4 separate regions of the Homo sapiens genome follow, and all the other regions are linked to region 1. The links are contacts of gene promoters, found by promoter capture Hi-C in blood cells and fetal thymus (Javierre and others, 2016). All regions are on one chromosome and are shown on one strand. The core of a region is centred on a gene start or on the middle of the fragment in contact, and the rest is flanking DNA. Distances in the headings are between cores, read along the strand shown.

Region 1 (5,129 bases), core at 1,097-3,596:
AAATAAAATACGGGTACTAATTTCTTTGCATATTTAAAGTCTTAATGTGCCCATACAAACCCTGAATATATAATTTATTCCTCCTATCACTGCTGGTCTTGTAATTAAGCCACAGAGAAAGAAATTCCCTAATATTTGCAATTTTTAACACTCTCCTACTTCATCATTCCACACTAATGGACACTTACGGGCTTGGTCTGTGGGGTTCATAAATTTTCCACTCTTGGTGGATGATGTAGATCTCCGTCCCATGTTGACAATTTGTATGGTTTACTTGTTCATTAAAAAAAGAAAAACCTGTGAAGGTGAAGACAAAGAAATAGCTTATATCTCCTAAATGTATTTCTTCCTTTTTCTAGTCCCTACCAATCTCTGAAAAAAAATTCCTTTAATTAGAAATTCTGTGAGACTGTTCTTTCCTTAGTTTTGACTTTAATGTCCAAGAAAGATGGCATCACCTTTCTTGACCATGAAAATTTAGATCTCTATCATTCTTCAGAAATGTGATGAGTGTGAAGACCACTTTGAATATCCTCAAGTCATCAGTTTAGCTTTTTTCTTATGGATCACAGCACTGACTTTGTCAACTGATAAAAACAACTAGAAAATGCTTTAACGATATGGCACAAACCATGAACATCAGAATTCATTAGTCCTTCTTCTATAACCTCCCTTTATTAACATGTAATTGTAAAAGAAGAATAAGAAGGGAATGGGGGTAATGGATCTAGGCTCAAAACACATACCTCACCTTTGCCTCTCTCCATGGTTTTTCTTGGCATGTATGCTGTACATTCTCAATACTTCTAAGACACTAAAAACTCATTAATTTAAGCATATTTAATTCAGATTCAGTTCTAGTTCAGATATAATGCTTGACTCTCAAGAGTTCAAAACACAACTAAAAATGCAAATATTTGAAATTAGTGCTATACTGAGAGCTCCCCAAAACTTAAATATTAAGACACATATTTTTCTTACTAAGACCTGACTCCCAATATATATTTCTTAAGGTAATTAAAGGGAATACTTATTTTTGTTTGAGGAAAAAATATTTTGTAAGCTAAAACTTTTATTAACACAGTACCCTATTACATGACTTCTTCCTCTTATTCCAAAATAATGGGGCTTAATTTTTTGAAGCGCAGTCTTTCCAGTAATAAAGGCGGACAAATTTGCTTCCTTTTGCAAGTAGACACTTTTTAAAGGTAAGAAAGGGAAGATTTTGTCAGCCCAGTTTATTACAGTTAATGTCTCTTTCACCAAGTGTCCAACTGCCCCGAAAGCCAGATGTTTCAGAAAGCCAGATGTTTCACAGCTGTTCTGGTGGCAATTACTTCAAGACAGCGGTATCAAAGGCTCTGATTTTTAGCTTCCTCATCTAAAAAATGGGGACATCAATTACTTTATAACAAAGCTCTGATGATACAATGAGATTACAAATAAAATATCCTGTGATGTTTGACTCACTACTTAACTAAAATCTTTATAATGGATCCATATTCCTGGCCTAGCTACCATACACCCTGTCAAGTGGTTTCCTTCTAAGAAAAACTGGGGATGGGGGGGTTAGGGGGGTGGGAGAGCAGCAGGGAGTAGGAGGTAGGGAAGGAGGAAAACAAGCAAAATCAGTACATATACAAGCTCTCCCATCTTTGATTGCCTGCGTTTTTTGTGCTTTCCTTTCTCAAGTTTCCTCAGGCTCATGTTCTGAATCTCCTCCCCCACAAATGAAACACAACGGATACGAATTACAGAGAATTTTACGGAAGACACTGGAGCTTAAGTCTGCAGATTAGTTTTTTGTCTACAAGCGGAGGCGACTGGAAAATCAAGCCAAATAAGCGTTGGATAACTCTAAACAGCCAAAGAAGCTTCAATGGGATAGGGTCCAGGTTCACCAAAGGAGGCAACACCAGCAACTGACGAAACCATAGCGACGGCTGACCGACCATGACTCGAGGTACAAGACGTCAAACCTAAGGCTACTAATCAACGTGCGTAAGAAGCGGCCCCAACCGACCCGGGCGATGCCAACCGCGCAACCACTGGTCGCCGCGCCACCCCAGGCCCAGGAATAGCCCAGTCCGCAACAGGGAGACCTCAACCAGGGAGAGGAGGAGCGGGGCAAAGGGGCTGGGTGTCCCCCAAGCCGCTGCGCGGGACGTGGAAGGGACGAAAGAGGTGAGGAAGAGTAGTAAATCAATTCAATACACTCACACTTCTGCTGTGCTCCCAGGACTACGAGAAGCGGGTAGGGGGCGACTCCCGGCCTCTTTCACTTCGTAAAGGCCTTCAACTGGGTCTCTCGGTCAACCCCTCAGCTACCGCCATCTTGAAACCTCGCGCCCCTCCGCACTCCTCACGTCATTTCCCATTCCTCTGTCCCGCCTTCTCTTAGCGCCGCTTGACCCTGGAACCATAGAGAATACCCAAGAATTCCAGGACCAGAGTCTCTTCCGGTTCCATACAATACTCAATTGGTTGGTTGTCGGCTAAGAGCCCGCCTCATTGCGCTCATCTAGTACAATAGGAATTAGAAGAAGATAGCTGCTAACTGAGTGGCTGACGGTCCTGTCTCTCGAGTTGGAGGCATCTTGACTTAGTTGCTGGGAGCCTGGTACGTTGAGCCGTCCGAGAACGGTACATTCTGCAGATAAAGAAGCGTTCTGCGTTTTCTGTCTTTTGGAATTACCTTAGTTTTTGCATTTTTCTGTTTCTTATGACCCAAGCAGGTGCGATCCTTTAGGGGTGTCTCCGTGTGTAAACGAATACCCAGATAACATTTGCCACTGAGTTTAATCCGCTTTGTAAGCATCAGGTTATCCCATGTGAGCGCCTAGTACGTGTGGAAATTTAATAGACAGGCAGAACAGAACGTTTGTAGACCACCTGAACAAATAAATTAGCACCCGTATTAGAGTCGCAGATTGCTTATATGGGCGGTGATTTATTATTTGTTAGTAGTGTTTTGAAGAAGAAATACGGGGATACATATGCAGTCGGTTTTAAGTTATATGAGTGGCAAGGTTGATATATATTGGCTATATTCCCGACTGGTCTTTTCACCAGCCAAAAGTCCTCTATGATGTCACTCTACGTACGGGATTCTTCACTTAACTCTAGCCTTCGCCCTTTCCCTACCTTCTATCCCCTCTTTCCGTGAGTCAGCCCCCACTTATTTCCCTTAAAGGTAAGTTTAAACATTTAAAAAACTATCTTAGAGGATACGCTTGGTTATTTCTAATCTTAACCTGACTATCCCATGTAGGAAGGCTATTCTTACCACCAGTTATAAATATTTCAAAATATTGATGGAGATACATACTAATTTTTAGCAGAATCTTTAAACTGCCCTTGAAGGTATAAGATCGGTCCTATACCTAAACTTACCTTTGTGTTAGGAAATTCTTGATTTGATTTTAGACTGAATTTGAGTGTCAGAAAGCAATGACGAGATATTGTAGGTTAAAGCTGATAAACCAGGTAGTACATAAAAAAGAAAATAATCTTGAACTGCGAAGGTGAGCTAAGTTGTAATGTTTTGCAACTAGTTTTTTTTCTTTCCTAACACATTAGTGATCATAGTTTTGCAACTCGTTTTGAAAAACAATGCAAGAAGAGAAAGAGAAAACAGTGTATGTTGGAAATATTAAAGTCTTTCATGTAGCTAAAATTTTATATGTAGCTACTATTTTTAAGATATGCTGAGCAGTTTTTATTTCAATACATTTCTTGTACTTGGATGGGAGAATCAACTATAACAAACACAGTCTGGCATCAACAGCATATTAATAATTTTGTCAGTATAGACTAAAAGAGTCCTCATGGGAATTATTGGTTGGCAAAGGATTTAGAAAACAAACACATCTGCAGAGATTCAGCGGAACCATTAATAGGCTTCCATAGCCTTTGGCGTTTTCTAAAATCAGGTAATTAGTGAAATGGCCCACCTAATGCGTCATGTAGCAAAGGCAGCTGCCTCCTTTTTGCTAGTGTTGAAAATGAAATTATATTCTTTTTTCTGAAAGCTTATAATAAATTATGACTTTCTTTTAAATGACAAATGCTTTGAGTAGTGACCTTCTATTCTGCATCCTAAATGCAATATGTGTAGCTGTGTTTTGCTTTCTTGTCTTCTAAATGTTTCAGTGTTTGAACATTCACTTGAGCGATATTTAATTATCACAGTTGGTCAGGGTTGATTGCAGTGACTGAAACAGGACCTTGATGTTTTTAGTTTTGATTTTTACCATTTTCAAATCCATCCGGTTTACATTGTGTAATCAGTAGACGTTTACAGATCAGCTTCCTGTCCTAATTGAAGCACATTGTTACAAACCATTTTTCAGTCTCTTCTAGTTTACAGAAAACCAGATTTACTCTGATGGTCAAAAATATGGTAGTATTTCTGTCTCATTCGAAGGCCTAGAGTTTGTGTCTAGGCAGAAGTTACTGAGTATGTCCCCTTATAACTAAATGATGTTTGAAGCTGGTGGTAGAAATGAAAGTCTCTGCATTCAATGTGAAATTTAAGAATTTTACTGAAATTAGAAAAGAGAAAAGTAACCCCTATACTTGCTACTCTACGATAGCATTTACCCCAATGTTGATCTGGTAGAGCAGGGTGTGAAAACATCCAGGGAGAAAATTTTTTTACCTCACAGGGTCTAGCATCAGCTGATCCAGGCATTGTTGACTCAAAACTCATCTAGTCATCTAGTCTTGGCATCTCCAGTTTCCCTCTCCAAATTGTTTATCTTATTTAAGTCCATATTGGAAGCCTATAGAAAATGAACCTAATCAAAGAAGCAAACACTGTTACTGAAAAGGAAGCAGAAAAACACTTCAGTGGCAAATAAAACGGCTGTTCATTTCATTTGGTGTTTCACTGTATTGATGACCTCAGTAATGGCATGATTATATTTTTCTGAGGCTGATTTGAACTCCACCAGATGCTTCTCATAACTTTTGATGGCTGCTTGAAGCTGTGTTTTTTCCACTGCTCCCAGGATGGCACGGACAATCATATCTATGCCAAGGCCAAGAACAGCAACTCCAATACTACCAAGGAGAGAAGCACCAATTTGAGCTAACACAGTGACCAACTTGTTAATTATGCCAGTTGT
Region 2 (5,253 bases), core at 1,312-3,811, 280 kb before region 1:
TGAATATGAACTGTGTCCTGTTCCCTGACTGACCACTAACTGTGCATGAATGTGGGAAATGCCAGGGAGCCCAGGGTAAAAACAGAAAGAAATGAGAAGGGTTTTCCCTTGTAAGACAGAAATGTTCTAGAACTGAGATAGGTGAGTTTGCTGCAACTTACACTGCCAGGGTTCCCAACTCATATGCAGCTCAAATTCCTCAGGCTCTCAGAGGACAAAGGTAAGAGCTGGAAAAGCAAATGGGAATATAGGGGAAACCTTAGGATCAAGGAAATCACAAAGAGAGTTAGCTCTATAATATGAATTTGAGCTGCCAACATCTTTCACTGACTGCTAAATTACACAGATGCAGGAGCAACCTCCAGAAGACCAGGTTGAAGCAGCAGTGTTGAGGAAGGACATTGGTTGCTGCACACTGTGCAGGTGACATATGTTGAAGTTTGAGTGCAAGCAAGGTAATTGCCTGTTAAAAACAACAACAAAAAAAGTAAAACAAGTGACTTCAGCAAGATGTCTGACTAGAGGTGCCTAACATTCATTTCCCTACAAAAAAAAAGGAACCAAAATGATGAATAAACAACTACATTTTGACTAGAGTATCCAAAGGAGAACACTAAAGTGTTCCGAAGGAGTACAATAAGGGAGGGGCAGAGACCCAGTGGAGCATGGAGACTTGGGATGGCTGCATAAAAAAGAGAATGAAACATTCTGCCTTTGCCACTTCGTCTTCCCAGTCAAGGTCGGTATGAAACCAGGAGGCAGTCTCCCTACGGAGAAAACGTGAGCAGGAGAACTCCCAGCAATCTCCATTAAAGATGCAAACACCTACAGTCTTTGCTGCTTGAGAATTCTGCAGTTTTCACAAGTCATGAACCCATTCTAGGGAGCTGCCTGGCATTCACATGGCTGTATTACTCCAAAGAATGAGCCCACATTGTGCCTCCTTCTCCTCTGTGATCTAAGCTGCTGATGTACAGCACTATCTTGAGACCGGTGCCACTACTATAGTACACTGTGCTCTGGAGGGCCAGTAACCACTGTTTGTTTCTCCCCATCCTGAGGCTCTGCTGCAAGTACACTGTGCTTGTAAACAGTAGCACACCACTCACCAGTTGAGCAGCTACTGTTTCCTATCCACCAGGAATAAGCTGCCTACGATGCACTCCATCTTCCCCATCCCTGTGGCACAGCACCTCAACCTCAATTACTCAGAGCATAGGCCCAGTGAAACAGCCATAACCTTGGTGCCTGAGCCCATGTGGTGTCCTGACGCCCAAGGAACAGATGATCCTACCCAGCAGGAAGGCCACACCTTACCCTGAAGGAGCAGTCCCTATGCACTTGCGGTGTGTGTAACAGCCTGGCACTCCTGCCCCCAGAGGACAGACTGTGTCTAATCCTATTGGAGTAGGCCTTGTGCACCCGTGGCGCATGAAACAAACTGGCACCCTTGCCACAAGCAGAAAAGCCATGCATATGATTTGACAGAGCTGCCATACAAACTCCTCCAGGCTAGGATGCCACTGAGGCATCCATAGAAATTGCTAACATTGACTACAGCTGAAAAAACTGCATGGTGACTACACTACTGCATCCACCTGGAACCACAGCCAATGCATCCTCCACAACCGACACCTTAGGACACATCTGCAGGCAAAAATCTTTTCCTATGATAACAACTCTATACAACTGGAAGAGGCATCCATTCTATCAGATGCCCAGACATCAGTGCAGGGACACAAGAAATATGAAAAAGCAAGAAAACATGATACCACCAAAAAAACACAATAACTCTCCCATAACTGACCTTAAAGAAATGGCAATTTACTAATTGCATAAAAAATTTAAAAATATGATCTTAAGGAAAATCAATGAGATTCAAGATAATATAGATAGGCAATTCAATAAAATCAGAAAAGCAAATCATGATATGAATAAAGAATTCAACAGAGATATCATTAAAAAAAAACTCTTGGAGCTGAAGACTTTAATGAATGAAATAAAAAATATAATGGAAAGTTCCAACAGCAGACTACACCAAGCAGAATAAAGAATTTCTGAACTGAAGACAGCTCTTTGCTTGAAGAGTGAAGAAAGCCTACAAGACCTATGAGACACCATTAAGTGAACACATTTTCACACTATAGAAACTTGAGAGGGAGAAGAGATGGAGAAGGGCACAGAAAGCTTCACAAAATAATAGCAGAAACTTCTTAAGTTTTGAGAGAGATATAGAGAACTCTATGCCAACAAATATGAAAACTTAGAAGAAATGGATAAATTCCTGGGCACATAAAACTTAACGAAAATTGAATCATGAAGAAATAGAAAATTTGAACAGACCAATAACAAGTAATGAGATTGAATTAGTAATAAAAAGTCTTCCAGAAAAGAAAAGCCGAAGACCCAATGGCCTCACTGATGAGTTCTACCAAACATTAAAGAAAAACTAATACAAATCCTTTGAAAACTATTCAAAAGACATGAAGAGGAGGGAATACTTCCAACATCTTTCTATGAGACCAGCATCACCCCGATTCCAAAACCTGATAAGGACACAACAAATAAATAAATCTATTGGCCAATATCCCTAATAAACCTAGATACAAAACTCCTCAAAAAAATATTTAAAAACTGAATTCAACAGCACATTAAGAAAAATCACTCACCATAATAAATGGGATTCATTCCAGGGATGCAAGGATGGTTCAATATATGCAAATCAATAAACATAATACATCATATTAACAGAATCAAGGACAAACCCATGAAGGGATGTTGAATCTATTGATCTAGAAAAGATATTTAATAAAATTCAACATCCCCTCATGATAAACACTCTCAACAAAACAGATATACAAGAAATGTAACTCAACACAATAAAGCCCATATATGACAAATTCACAGCTAGCATCATACTGAATGGGGAAAAGTTGAAAGCTTTTCCTCTAAGATCTGGAACAAGACACAAATGCACCACTTTTATTTAACATAATACTGGAGGTTCTAGCCAAAGCAATCAGGCAAGAGAAAGACAAAAAGAGCATCCAAATTGAAAAGGCAGAAATCAAACTGTCCCTGCTTCCAAATGACATAATCTTATACAGGGAAAACCCTGAAAACTTCACCAAAATACTGTTAGAACTAATAAGTAAATTGAGTACAGTTGCAGGATATAAAATCAATATACAAAAATCTATAGCATTTCTATATGACAATAGCAGACAATCAGAAAAAAATAAGAAGGCAATTCCATTTACTACAGCTACAAAAACAAACACTTAACTAAGCGGGTGAAAGATCTCTATGATGAAACCTATAAAATATTGACATAAGAAATGAAGAGGATACAAATGGAAAGATATTCCATGTTTACGGATTTGAGGAATTTTTAAAAAAATGTCCATACTAATCAAAGCAATTGACAGATTCAGTGCAATCTCTATCAAAATACCAATGACATTCTTCATAGAAAGAGAAAAAAATCTTTAAATGTGTATGGAACCTCAAAAGACCCCAAATAGTCAAAGCAATCTTGAGCAAAAAGAACAAAGCTGGAAACATCACACTACCTGGCTTCAAAATATACTACAAAGTTATAATAACCAAAACAGCATAGTACTGGCATAAAAATAGACATATATACTAATAAGACAGAATAAAAAATACAGAAATAAATTCACACACTTACAGCTAATTGATTTTTGACAAAGACACTAAGAACACACATTGGAAAAAATTCTCTTTGATAAATGGTGCTTGGAAAACTGGGTATCTACATGGAGAGGAATGAAACTAGACCCCTTGCTGGGTATTTATCCAAAGGAAATGAAATAAGTATGTTAAAGAGATATCCACACTCTCATGCTTATTGCAGCACTATTCACAATAGTCAAGATATGGAATCAACCTAAATGGCTATCAACAGATGAATGGATAAAGAAAATATGATACATATACATATAATGGAATACTATTCAGCCATAAAAAGGATCAAATTATGTCATGTGTAGCAATGTGGATGAGCCCTGAGGGCATTATGTTAAATGAAATAAGCCAGGCACAGAAAGACAAATACTCCACAATCTCACTCAGATGTGGAATCTATAAAAGCCGATCTCATACAAGTATAGAGAAGAACAATGCTTACCAGCAGCTGGGGAGGGTAGGCAAGGTGGAAAGGGCTTAATCAACAGGTACAAAATTACAGTTAGATAGAAGGAGAAAGTTGCGGTATTCTATTGCACAGTAGGCTTACTATAGTTAACAATACTATATTATATATTTTAAATAACTAGAAGAGAGATTTTTGAATGTCCTTACCATTAGAAAGTGATAAATGTTTGAAGTGATGAATATTCTAAATACCATGATTTGTTCACTACACAATGTATACATGCATCAAAACATCACACTGTCCCCTATAAATATGTACAATTATATGTCATTTAAAAATAAAATAAAACATAATTCTCAAAAATACACATTTCAGAGACACTATGGTGTGCTATTTTTCAAGTCCACATTTCAACCAAAAATTACCAGGCACTACAGTTAACAATATTGTGTTACATATTTCAAAATAACTATAAAAGAGGATTTTGAACGTTCTTGCCATAAGGAACTGATAAATGTTTGCGGTGAAGAATATACTAAATATGTATATACATTGTGTAATGATCAAGTCATGGTATTTGCTATATTTGTCACCTCAAAAGAAAAAGGAAGGTACGACCCCACACTTAAGTCACTGGAAACTGTTTCCAAGTAGGTCTTGATATTGGGTTTAGCGGACAAAGACAAAACAGGAAAATATGGTTTTAAGAGTTACCAGAGAGGGAATCTCAACATAAAATTAGAAATTAAAGAAAGAACAAAATTGAAATTCTAGATCTGAAAAGTACAGTAAATGAAATGAAAAACTCACTGTATACTTCAACAGTAAATTTGAGATGGCAGAAGAAGGAATTAGAAAACCTGAAGATTGTGGCTGGGCATGGTGGCTCACGCCTGTAATCCCAGCACTTTGGGAGGCCAAGGCGGGTGGATCACCTGAGGTCAGGAGTTGGAAACCAGCCTGGCCAACATGGTGAAACTTCATCTCTACTAAAAATACAAGATTAGCCCAGTGTAGTGGTGCATGCCTATAATCCCAGCTACTTGGGAGGCTGAGGCAGGAGAATCGCTTGAACCTGGGAGGTGGAGGTTGCAGTGAACTGAGATCGCATCACTGAACTCCATCCTGGGCAACAA
Region 3 (5,798 bases), core at 2,240-4,739, 300 kb before region 1:
TTTTGAAGGATCTATAGTATCATTTTAGTTAAGTGGGTCAAACAGAATCAAAACAAAACCCAAAGAAATAAATAAAAAACAAAATGGCTAAATAGTTTAAAATAGGTTAATTCGAACACAGGAAAGGATCTATTTGTTGTTTCTTTTGTCTGGTCTCCTGAGTTGTTAATTAGGTGAAAAAAGATCTGCAATGGCCCCCTCCCTTTCCTAATCTGGCTTTTACATTTATTTTGTGCCTTAAAGATTAACTACAAAGATAAACATGGCCAAAAATAAATAAATAAATATGGCCATATGTCCGTTGTTGCTTAGTCTTCCCTTGCAGCCTTTTACCCTTGATTTCTCCTTCATCTCTACCAAATATAGCACAACTCCTCAAGTAATTTTTTTTTTTTAAGATGGAGTTTTGCTCTTGTTGCCCAGGCTAGAGTGCGGTGGCACAATCTTGGCTCACTGCAACCTCTGCCTCCTGGGTTCAAGCAATTCTTCTGTCTCAGCCCCAGAGTAGCTGGGATTACAGGCACCTGTCACCATGCCCGGCTAATTTTTGTATTTTTAGTAGAGATGGGGTTTCACCATGTTGGCCAGGCTGGTCTTGAACTCCTGACCTCAGGTGATCCACCCGCCTCGGCCTCCCAGAGTGCTGCGATTACAGTTGTGAGCCACTGTATCCAGCCTACTCAAGTGATTTTTAAACCAAGGTGTGTGTATGTACATGGATGTGTATGTACACACACACACAGGTGCATGCATAGTCTCATCTTAGCCGGGCATGGTGGCGACAATCACATTTAACTCCAAAAATTTGACGTGCTATTTTCTTCTAAAACTATAGATGCTTTTATTTTTGGTCACTATTTAACTTTGTGTAAAGTGGACCAAGAGAAAACCATATTGTGGAAGACAGTTTTTCACACATTTTAGTATCCGTGTTGCACACTGTGTTAGAGATTATGAAAACCATTCTAGTTCAGTTTATCACCCAAAGCTATCACCCAACACTAACTCCTTAGTATTCTTTCAAAGGAAGCAAATAGTAAGATTACAATATAGAATGAGCTAAAATATCAAGGGGAAAGCTTCATTTCCTCTTTATTCTCTTTATCGTCCTTCCCATTTTAACCTTTTAACTTTGTTTTGATGGTGCCAAGTTGAGTCTGATGTACCCATTGTTAGCTTTGGATAGAATTTAAAGTATATCCCAGAATTAGCTGGGCATGTTGGTGCATGCCTGTAATCCCAGCTACTCAGGAGGCAAGGCTGGAGAATCGCTTGAACCCGGGAGGCGGAGGTTGCAGTGAGCTGAGATTGCGCCATTGCACTCCATCCTGGGAGACAAGAGCGAAACTCTGCCTCAAAAAAAAAAGAATTTAAAGTATATCCTTTGAGGTCATTTTATGTAACAATTAGATATAACCTCCTGTGTATCTCTCTGTTCCTCTTCAAAGTTATTAAAATTCAGCTTAGGTCATGGATTTTTAATATGAGGGCCAGCTGTACTGGTGTCAGGTAGGTGTTTTGGGTGTAGATAATTTAGGACTGGAGGGCTGAGTTAAGTTTTAGGAGGAGAATGTGGTTGAGAATATTTTGAAAGGAATTTATGGAGTTTGTGAAATAACTTCGAAGTCCTCTTCCTTTACAATATTTGAATTCATATTTGTACCTTCTCAAAATAGTGATTCATTTTTCCTAGAATTACAGGAGGGAGCTCTTTTACTAATGTTGTTTTGTTTGCAACTTTGATGGCTTATAATAGGAAGTATTCTAGTTGTAAAGAAAACTCTTTAGAGACTTTTGACTGGTCAGTATACTGAGGTGTGAGATTTGATTCATGATGAAGAAAGCCTATAGATTGCCAAAAAATTAATTCTCCAAACCACCTTTCACTCTCAGAAAATGAGACCACAAAGGAGTATGCTATAAATCAAATTTGCCAACCAATTATGTAGATATTACTCATTCTAGGACTAATGATGATGGTAAAGAAGTTGCCAGTGTTATGGCAATGAAAATTTCAGAAAGGAGGAGTTGATGATCTTCTAGATGTATATGAACACCTGTCTATATCTGCATGTATATGTTTTGACCTGCAGTGGTTGCAATGTTGATATGTGTTCAAGATTATTCCTGTCTACAAAACTGAAGGCCCATGTTCAAATTGTTCTTTATTGGGTGTTTTTATGGTCACGTGGTAACAATTTTCTTACCTAACCTACAAAAGGTTCTCTTGATGAACATTTTTATTTATATTTACTAATCTTTTTTAAAAAAAGCTTTCATAGCATTATATAATCAGATGAAGAAAGCCCAGTAGAATAAAAAAAAAATTCATTAGCCTAGCCTATATTATGTTTTCTGTCAAAGGAAAACAAATTCTCAAATAGGAATTCTAAAAATATTTACTAAAGTAAAATAACTACTTAAAATGTTTTATTCCAGTTGGAAGGAAGGTACAGGGAGAAATCGCAATTATTTAGGGGAGAAGTATATTTATTATAAGATGGTGTCCTCAAATTAGCCTACCATGGCACGTAGGGGCAGCAGCTATATTAGATTTACTAGAGGTGCTAAGTTAGAACACTAGGCTTTTATTGAGGCAGGTTTTAATATTGATAGATGCTTTTTGTTTGGTTTGTTTCTTCTGGGAGAGAATGGAGGACTTAAGTAGAAGTAGCTACTGATAACAGACTTTCTAGTAGCAGTTTCCACTCCACGGTTACCTTTTTAGTTTCATAGTATCTTTTCACAAAGTATTACAAATAAGCTAGATTCTCCCAGTTTGGGAATGCAAGTTTGCTACATTTTTAGCCTGGCAATATTTGTGTAGGTATTGCCTTATTGGAAATTCTGGAAACCTGATACTGCAACCTGCAATGTAGGATGTTTGTATGGCATTTAAAGGTAATGGTGATGTTTATTATTCTATACTTTGCATTCTGTGAGAGTAATTTTCACTCTGTCTTAAGTGTGAGTAAGCCTCTTCTAAAAATCTTGTTCTTGCCAAGAAATTTATAAATCACATACGAAGACGTCTGTTGCTAACAGTTAACTTTATGAGGTAACTATATCCTTCTATTTCTCTGGACTCATTTTTAAAAAATATGCCGAATACTGCATACTGTTTAAGGTAGTATATAAGTTTATGAGAGAAGTGGAGAGCTTTCTTCCTTGAAAAGTCGGTATTTGTTGAGATACCATTTGCCTCACAGAGAGGTGTTCCCCACTCCCATCCCCATTGCCAGATAATAAATATTTTGAGAAAAGTGACCTAAAACAGCTGAAATCTTAGGTGCATCTGTCTGCAGACCTCCTTAAGCAGGCTGTATCTTACAATTCCCTTACTGCACTGGGTAAGTGTTAACTTAGTTTTTGTTGTTTGCTCTTTTGCTTTAAATATTCTCCAAATTACCATTTATGCAACATGGTTAGGGTTAATACTGCATGGTATTCATTTATCTTGTTTCATGAACTTTCCAGTACTGTACAAGGTCAACAAAGTAATGCCTGTGGTATCCTCATCTCTCACTTTTTTACTCTGTGATTTTAGCACAGTAAGGTACTGCAAAGACCTTCCTTCCAAATGTTCTCCTTGACTTTATTTCTTGGGCCAATTCAGTATCCTCAACATCCTAAGATTTTGTTGTTTTATCACTGACCTGTGGTTGGCCTGTTTTATTCTAATTTCCAGAAAAGTCAAGTCCCAGTATTTGCAATATCAAATAACTCTAAAACCGATGTGTGATTCTACCTTCCTTACTATTTTTACTGGGCAAATGCCCTATTTTTTTAATTATTATTATTTTTAACTTTTGGGACACACAAAAATCAGCAATTCTCATGAAGCGTTTGTTAGTGTGGCAGACTTGTCTAATTCCTGAAACTCATTCATCCCCTTGAGCCAGCCAATGGGGAGGAATAGGATAATGCAAACACATGTTTTGTTTTCTCATTTTCAAATAATTTACCATGTTAAAATAAACTTTTCTTTGTTTTTTATTTGTAGAGTCAGCTAAGTACCCATATTTAAATGCCGTCTTTATTATTTTTTTGAGGTCTTTGTTTTTGTCTGTTTTTGTTTTGTTTTGTTTTGTAAATAAGGTAACTGGGCAATCAAACACCTTTTGGGGATTCTGGCTTTAGTATTTTATCAGCCATTTTAAAATTAAATATAAAAATCCTTTGTAAGAAACTTGCATCCTAATTTTTCTTTATTGCAATTGAAAGTGTAAATAATAAGACAATGTAAGTAAGACCTTCCTAATGTCTAATACAAACTGGGCTCCAGCAAGTGGCCCTATTTTTATTAGGGTTTTGAAGGTTTGTGTGTGTGTGTGCGTGCGTGTGTGTGTTTTTCTTTTTTAAATGTATAGTAGAGTGGTGTCTGTATAAGTGTTACCTGTAGTGGGGTTTTGTCCAGCAAGCCTGAAATTTATACTTTGAAATAAAACTACTGGGTTTTTAACATTCTGAGTACTCTGATTAATTCTGGTTATTCACCCTTGTGGCTTTTTTTCTTTCTTTCTTTTTTAAGAATCTTCCACCTTGTTTAGAATCACCCATTACATACTGTATGGTATGGCTTATTTAATCTACTTGGCAATTCCATGGCACTCAGATCACATGTAACTCTCCAGTTTCGAAAGAAAGTTGCTATGCAGGGTTGCTGCCAGATTGTATAGGTGCTTTTAGCTTATAGGAGGCAACAGTAAGCTTTACTGTATTGTATGCCTAACCTACATCACAAAAAGACTCAACTTATGCCTGTTAATGACCAGAAAAATCACTAACTACAATCACCAACTACTACTAGAGGTTCCTTTGAAAACGAAGCTCCAGCATCCCCTAGGGTTTTGTCATTAGGCATATTCATCCAGGGAAAGGGGAAAGAGCATAGGAGGAGTACAGATTCTTATGGGCGAGGCCTGGAAGTGGCACTCGTCTCAGGTTCCAATGGCTAGAATTGTCATGTGGCACAACTATCTGAGGGACACTGGGAGATGTGGTCTGTGTGAGCAGGCGTGAAAGGAGAACATGAATTCTGGTGAATGAAGGAGCTGTTTCTTCCATACCCTCTTGTGTATTAGCATGTATGCCGAAGCTTAGTGTTATTTATATATATATGTAACATTTCTTCTACAGTGCTCTACCTTATAGTGAGTGCTTACTGTAAAAACAACAAAGTCAGTGGGAAATGAAAGTGACAAATTAATATATTTTATTGCATAATTCTGATGGGAAAAACATAGCTAAAATAGTGCCTTTGGTATCTTATTTACAGTCTTCTAGTCCGTCATCTCCCTCCTTCATTTTATATCAAGTTTCAAAATTGGTTTCATGGTAATAAAATCAAAGTTGTAGACCTCTGGCATGCCCTGATGTAGAGTTTTGTTGAAACGGTCCCAGCGAAAAACAGGGAGGCCACCTTGTACTGTGGGACCACTTATGGCATAGGATGTGTACTGAGATGCTAGGTAGATATCTGCCACCTGGAAAGAGGGAGGAGGAGGACATTTTAGAAAATCATCGTTCAGCAAAAAATTAAATCCATGGCCTTCCCCACTCTCCCACTACCAAAGTCACAATATTAGCTTTTTTTTTGAGTCGGAGTTTCGCTCTTGTTGCCCAGACTGGAGTACAGTGGCACAATCTCAGCTCATTGCAACCTCTGCCTCCCAGGTTCAAGCAATTCTCCTGCCTCAGCCTCCCAAGTAGCTAGGATTACGTGGATGGGCCACCACACCCAGGTAATTTTTATATTTTTAGTAGAGATGGGGTTTTGCCTTGTTGGCCAAACTGGT
Region 4 (5,755 bases), core at 3,256-5,755, 260 kb before region 1:
TGCAGGTGTCAGCCACTGCACCCAGCCTGTCTTCACTCTCCTAAGCAGCATTCCAACGTACGGATGTATTATAATATTTTTAACTACTCTTTTTTGATGAATTTTCAAGTGGTTTCTAGTCTTTTGATATTGTAAACAATGCCACAATAATTAATCTTGGACGCTTCATTTTGCTTGTGTTTGAGTCTATGTGTAGGATAAATTCCTAGAAGTGATTTAGATTTTAATAGATATTGCCAAATTGTCCTCATACGAATTGTTTAAATTATACTCTTCTGGCCGGGCACAGTGGCTTATGCCTGTAATCCCGGCATTTTGGGAGGCCGAGTCCAGTGAATCACCTGAGGTCAGGAGTTCGAGACCAGCCTGGCTAACACGGTGAAACCCCATCTCTATTAAAAATACAAAAATTAGCCGGGCATGGTGGCGCATGCTTGTAATCCCAGCTACTCAAGAGGCTGAGGCACGAGAATTGCTTGAGTCCAGGAGGCGGAGGTTGCAGCTGAGATCAACCACTGCCCTCCAGCCTGGGTGATATCGCGAGGCTCTGTCTCTAAATAAATAAATAAATAAATAAAACTCTTCCATCCTCAACAACATATTAAACATTTAGTTTATTTCCAATCTCATAGGTGCAAAACAGTATCCCATTGTAATTGATATTTGCATTTCTTTTGTTATACTGTATAATACATCCATACATTGGAACACTGCTTAGAAGAGTGAGGACAGATGATATTATACATCTGAAAGAATAAAGATGTATACATACCATTTAAGGAAAAATAAATAAACACTGATGTAGTCAACTCACAGTTTACGAAATGGAACATTAGCAGTGCCTTGGAAGTCTCCAATCTCATCTCTCTCCTTTCCCGCCAGCGGTCACCACTATGCTAAATTTTGTATAGCTCATTACCTGCCTCTCTATTATTTATCATCTATATATAATATATTTATCATCTATATATATTTTTAAGATATATTTTTTAAAATCTACCTTTTTTGAATTTGCACAAATACAGTCATATTGTGTGGGCTGGGTGCAATGGCTCATACCTGTAATCCCAGCACTTTGGGAGGTTGAGGCGGATGGATCTTTTGAGGTCAGGAGTTCGAGACTAGCCTGGCCAACATGGTAAAACCTCATCTCTACTAAAAATACAAAAATTAGTTGGGTGTGGTGGCTCAAGTTTGTAGTCCCAGCTACTCGGGAGGATGAGGCAGGAGAATCACCTGAACCCAGGAGGCAGAGGTTGCAGTGAGCCAAGATCATGCCACTGCACTCCAGCCTGGGTGAAAAAGCAAGACTCTGACTAAAAAAAAAAAAGTTAGAGTCTTACTGTATGCATTTTTCTGTAACTCATTCCTTTCACTGGGTATTATTGTTTTGACATTTATCAATATATATGTGTATATACACATATATATACACACATATATACACAGACATGTACATGTATATATGTGTGTATATATGTATACATATACATATATATACAAATACTGGACAAAATAGACAAAAAGTTCAAAGAAAAGCTATGCACATATATATATATATATATATATATATATATATATATATATACACACACACACTGGTCAAAATAGGCAAAAAGAGAGTTATATAATATAAATATTATTTATATATATATATATATATATACTGGCAAAATAGACAAAACATAATAAATGTAACATGTTATATAATATACAGATTATATACATATATACTGGCAAAATAGACCAAAAGACAGTTATATAATATACATTTTTCATTTAGACATATATTATCACGGGAAATAAAATATCCATAATTTTGGAAGTACATCAAATGGTACATTGGAAGCCTTAGTGATTCAGTAAAGCTTTCCCCCAGAATTAGAATGTATATGTGTTTGTGTGGATATGTGTTTATGTGAATGTTGTGGAGTGTGGGAAACATAGAACTTGTATACTTAAACATCTTGTCTTAATGAGCATGCAGTCTAAAACACTAGTTTTATCAGATTAGCTAAAAACCCAGTACATTCATACTATGCTTTTTAACCTAATCCTGAGCCCAGTATTATGGAAGATTGAAAATACACAGAAACAAGTTGGCTTATTTGTGTTTTGGGCTTGTAATTTTGTAAGTTAGGTGCTGCAATATGAGAGCTATGACAGTTCTTTTCCGTAAGGAATTTATACTGTAGTTCTACTTTGACCTGCTTCTAAATTGGAATGTTATTTTAAAGATAACATTCAATATTCTTACCATACTCTATAAATTCTGAGAAGCTTGTTTAAAGTCCTACCTTTGTCCCTTCTAATATAGCCCTCTTCTTTGCTCCTACATAGAGGCCATCTATTTGTGCCATCACATAGCCTGTATGTCTCCAAAATGAATCAGTCTTGTATTCTTTGATATTTTTCCGGGTCCACTTATCTTGCTTCCTGGAAGAGAAATTAGATTTGCACCACAGTCTCAATAGTTGCTCATTCAAAGCTAAATCAAAGCAGGCATTGAGAGATTATATACTCAGACACTTATGCTAATGTGATTTAAATTCTAGATCTTGTAACACTCCAGTCACTCAAAGGACTTCAGGGCAAATTCTAACTGATTTTTAATTTCTCCCTAGGGTTATGATTCTTCTTTCACAGCTTCTTCTGTGCTGTATCTAGAACAAAAGCATAAGTGTGATAGTGACCTAACTGTGATACAAGACCTAAACATGTCAAGGAGAGACTATCCAAATGCATTTTGTGTAAAACCACAATGTTTCACAAAGTCAATAAAGGTAGGTTGATTCACCTTACTTTTAGTTGTAGAAGTAGTAAAGTTAAACAACGGGACAAAAATCTAAGGACAAGGTGGTTTATATCTGTTTGTATTTCTCTCAGATCATTTGCATAGCTTATGATTCATTCCGTTTCAGTTGTTATTAGTAACCGCTTCAATGCCTCTGTCCTAGCATGGTAGCAAAAATGTCATTTTTTAATGGTCCTTTCACTCTTCTTCCAGTTCTCTGAACTTTTATGGGATGATTTGATATAACTTTGCGTACTGAAAACTATTTCTGACTTGTCCAGGCTATCACTAGCTCAATCTTAGAATAATGTCATTGCTTCATGGGATCTAGCCCAGTGGTTTTTAACTGAAGCTCTATAGGACTTTAAGCATTTCATGAAGAGGTTGCTTAGAGTGCAGTTTGGAGGGCCAACCCAAGAGCCTTTCTGTCCCCAAATTAATCTCCTGTCATCCCACAAATGTAAACACATTTAAAACTTTAGTCTTAGAAAACTTTATTAAAATGGAAATATTCTCAGAGGGTGTTAAGAGTTATAACTTTAGATATTATTGAAGACCTCAGCTAGGATTAGTAAGCAGGCTCATGAAAAGGAAACATCTTAAAGAGCGAGGAGAGGGGATCCCTGAAAAAAGGAGAAGGGCCTCCATGAGGAACAGACCCAGGGACTTAACACTGGTACTTTACACTGGTGATGTTCCTCTAACCGTGTTAGCAATTGAGTATGCGATATTCAACTCAACCTTTGAAAGAGCTGAAATTAGAGAGCATGTTGTCTGCAACCACTTTTCATGCCATTAGCAAAAAGTGCTATACCCTACTACAAGAATAACTCTAGAGTCCTGCTAAAGAGATTAAAAAGAAATTGGCAAAAAATTGCTGCTTGAAATTACAGATTCAGTGCCTCCAACATTTAAAACAATGAAAAGAGAAAAGCTATTATACGTACTCCATAAAATCCTGCACTTTATCCATGATGGAAGGTTTCGTGATCAGCTGTGGGTAGAGGTTTGTGTAGTGGTCATTCATGTGTCTGAAATGATACATGAAAATTATTACATTTATATTTTTCTTCTTGGATTTCTCCATCACAGTAAATTATTCAATCATTTGGCTAACTAGGATGTCCCTTATTACAAACTCTGCCTACTATCTTTTTTTTCCTTAATAAATGCACAGTTTCAAATTGGGAAATATTTACAACATATAGAAAAGGATAGAATATTGAAAACACCCCAAGTATTCACCGCTCAACTTTATTAAGTTATTATATTTTGCCATATTTGCCACATATATTTTAAAAATCAAACAAAAAATTTGAGTCGAAGCCTCTGTGTGCACTTCCTGATGCTAATTGTTTTCCCTTCTCCCAAGAGGTAATAACTTCAGTCTTGAATCTGATTATTCCCATGCATGTTTTTATGCAATTACTACATATACATTTAACCATAAATAATGTATAGAATTATTTATCATGTTCGCAACACACTATAAAAAAGATCATACTGGCTGGGCACGGTGGCTCATGCCTGTAATCCCAGCACTTTGGGAGGCTGAGGCAGGCGGATCACAAGGTCAGGAGATCGAGACCATCCTGGCTAACACGGTGAAACCCCGTCTGTACTAAAAATGGAAAAAATTAGCCAGGCGTGGTGGCGGGCGCCTGTAGTCCCAGCTACTCGGGAGGCTGAGGCAGGAGAATGGCATGAACCTGGGAGGCAGAGCTTGCAGCGATTCTTTATTTTAAAACTTAAAAAAATTAAAAATGTCTCATATGGTGTACAGTTAATATTTTTAATTGATTAAAATAATCCACTTATATTACTGGGATTTTAACATTCTTGGATTTATCTCTATAATCTTTTCTGTTTTCCATTTACTATCCCTTTATTTGTCCCCTCTTTCATGTTTTCTTTGTTTAGATAATACTTTTGTTATTTTCTTTTCAGTTTTGCTGATTTAAAACCTATAGAATGTATTTTTATTCTTAATATTAAAAAGATATAACTAATATTTTCTTATAAAGTCTAAATGAGTTTTATATTTCTCTCTTCCTCCAAACATAAAGCATATTTTAGCAAATTTTAACTACCCATTGACATCCTCCATCATGTTATTGTTCAAAGATTTAGTTTTACCTTTTTAATTAAAAATTTTGATTTAAAAATTATTTTCTTAGGCCGAGCACGATGGTTCACACTTGTAATCCCAGCATTTTGGGAGGCTGAGGTGGGCAGATCACGAGGTCAGGAGTTTGAGAACAGCCTGGCCAACATGGTGAAACCCCGTCTCTACTAAAAATACACACACAAAAAAATTAGCTGGCCCTGGAGGCGTGCACCTGTAATCCCAGCTACTTGGGAGGCTGAGGCAGGAGAATCGCTTAAACCTGGGAGGTGGAGGTTGCAGTGAGCCAAGATCATGCCATTGCATTCCAGCCTGGGCAACAGAGCAAGACTCCATCTCAGGAAAAAAAATAAAAATTATTTTCTTTTTAACCTTTACAATTAAATTGTATTAATTTTTTGTTTCTTGTATTAACGATTGTTCCTTATATACCACACCTTCCCTACTATTATACTTGCTAAAGTATATCCTCTAACAGTTTAATAGACGTCTTTGGGTGGTAAACTTTTAATTTATGTATCTGAACATATTCTTATTTTGCCCCTACTCTTGGATAATTTAAATGGTTATAACATTCTAGTAAGATATTTCTCCTCAATACTTTTAAGATAATATCTTGGTATCTTCTGACACTATTGCTGATGATCAGCAATATGCTTCCTGCTGAAATTCCTTTGTAGTTAATGTCTTTCCTTTCTAATAGCTTTTAAGATTGTTCCCTTTATCTTCAATTGTCTGCAGTCTCATCTGCTGCATTATAGCAATTTAAAAGGCTGTGTCTTCCAACTAAGGACTTGTGTTTTTTTGAAACGGAGTCTTGCTCTGTCACCCAGGCT

The links. The method cuts DNA at HindIII sites, captures the fragments that hold promoters and counts their contacts. A CHiCAGO score of 5 or more calls a contact.
Region 2: a fragment that was not itself captured here is called in contact with the fragment with the promoter of WBP11 in region 1 in 1 of 17 cell types (neutrophils); the score reaches 5.0 in neutrophils.
Region 3: a fragment that was not itself captured here is called in contact with the fragment with the promoter of WBP11 in region 1 in 1 of 17 cell types (neutrophils); the score reaches 6.1 in neutrophils.
Region 4: a fragment that was not itself captured here is called in contact with the fragment with the promoter of WBP11 in region 1 in 1 of 17 cell types (neutrophils); the score reaches 6.7 in neutrophils.

The regions. Positions count from the first base shown.
Region 1 is chr12:14,801,132-14,806,260 of GRCh38, forward strand. WBP11 (WW domain binding protein 11) reads right to left here and starts at 2,347. Exons shown (of 12, transcript NM_016312.3): 1 at 2,221-2,347; 2 at 189-297. The coding sequence starts at 252. C12orf60 (chromosome 12 open reading frame 60) reads left to right here and starts at 2,539. Exons shown (of 2, transcript NM_175874.4): 1 at 2,539-2,620. It overlaps SMCO3 (single-pass membrane protein with coiled-coil domains 3), which reads right to left. Exons shown (of 2, transcript NM_001013698.2): 2 at 3,519-5,129. The coding sequence ends at 4,872. RefSeq lists an enhancer at 2,643-2,882. The HindIII fragment of the contact is 2,157 bases long and covers 1,873-4,029 here.
Region 2 is chr12:14,519,993-14,525,245 of GRCh38, forward strand. All of the region lies in intron 6 of PLBD1 (phospholipase B domain containing 1), which reads right to left. Among named protein-coding and RNA genes, the nearest start is that of PLBD1-AS2, 7.5 kb to the right of the region's middle. The HindIII fragment of the contact is 753 bases long and covers 2,186-2,938 here.
Region 3 is chr12:14,498,469-14,504,266 of GRCh38, forward strand. ATF7IP (activating transcription factor 7 interacting protein) reads left to right here. Exons shown (of 15, transcript NM_018179.5): 15 at 1-4,462. PLBD1 (phospholipase B domain containing 1) reads right to left here. Exons shown (of 11, transcript NM_024829.6): 11 at 5,193-5,486. The coding sequence ends at 5,304. Among named protein-coding and RNA genes, the nearest start is that of PLBD1-AS2, 29 kb to the right of the region's middle. The HindIII fragment of the contact is 2,437 bases long and covers 2,272-4,708 here.
Region 4 is chr12:14,538,467-14,544,221 of GRCh38, forward strand. PLBD1 (phospholipase B domain containing 1) reads right to left here. Exons shown (of 11, transcript NM_024829.6): 3 at 3,742-3,825; 4 at 2,298-2,436. It overlaps PLBD1-AS2 (PLBD1 antisense RNA 2), which reads left to right. Exons shown (of 5, transcript NR_187784.1): 4 at 2,625-2,783; 5 at 4,972-5,109. Among named protein-coding and RNA genes, the nearest start is that of PLBD1-AS2, 11 kb to the left of the region's middle. The HindIII fragment of the contact is 4,455 bases long and covers 2,279-5,755 here.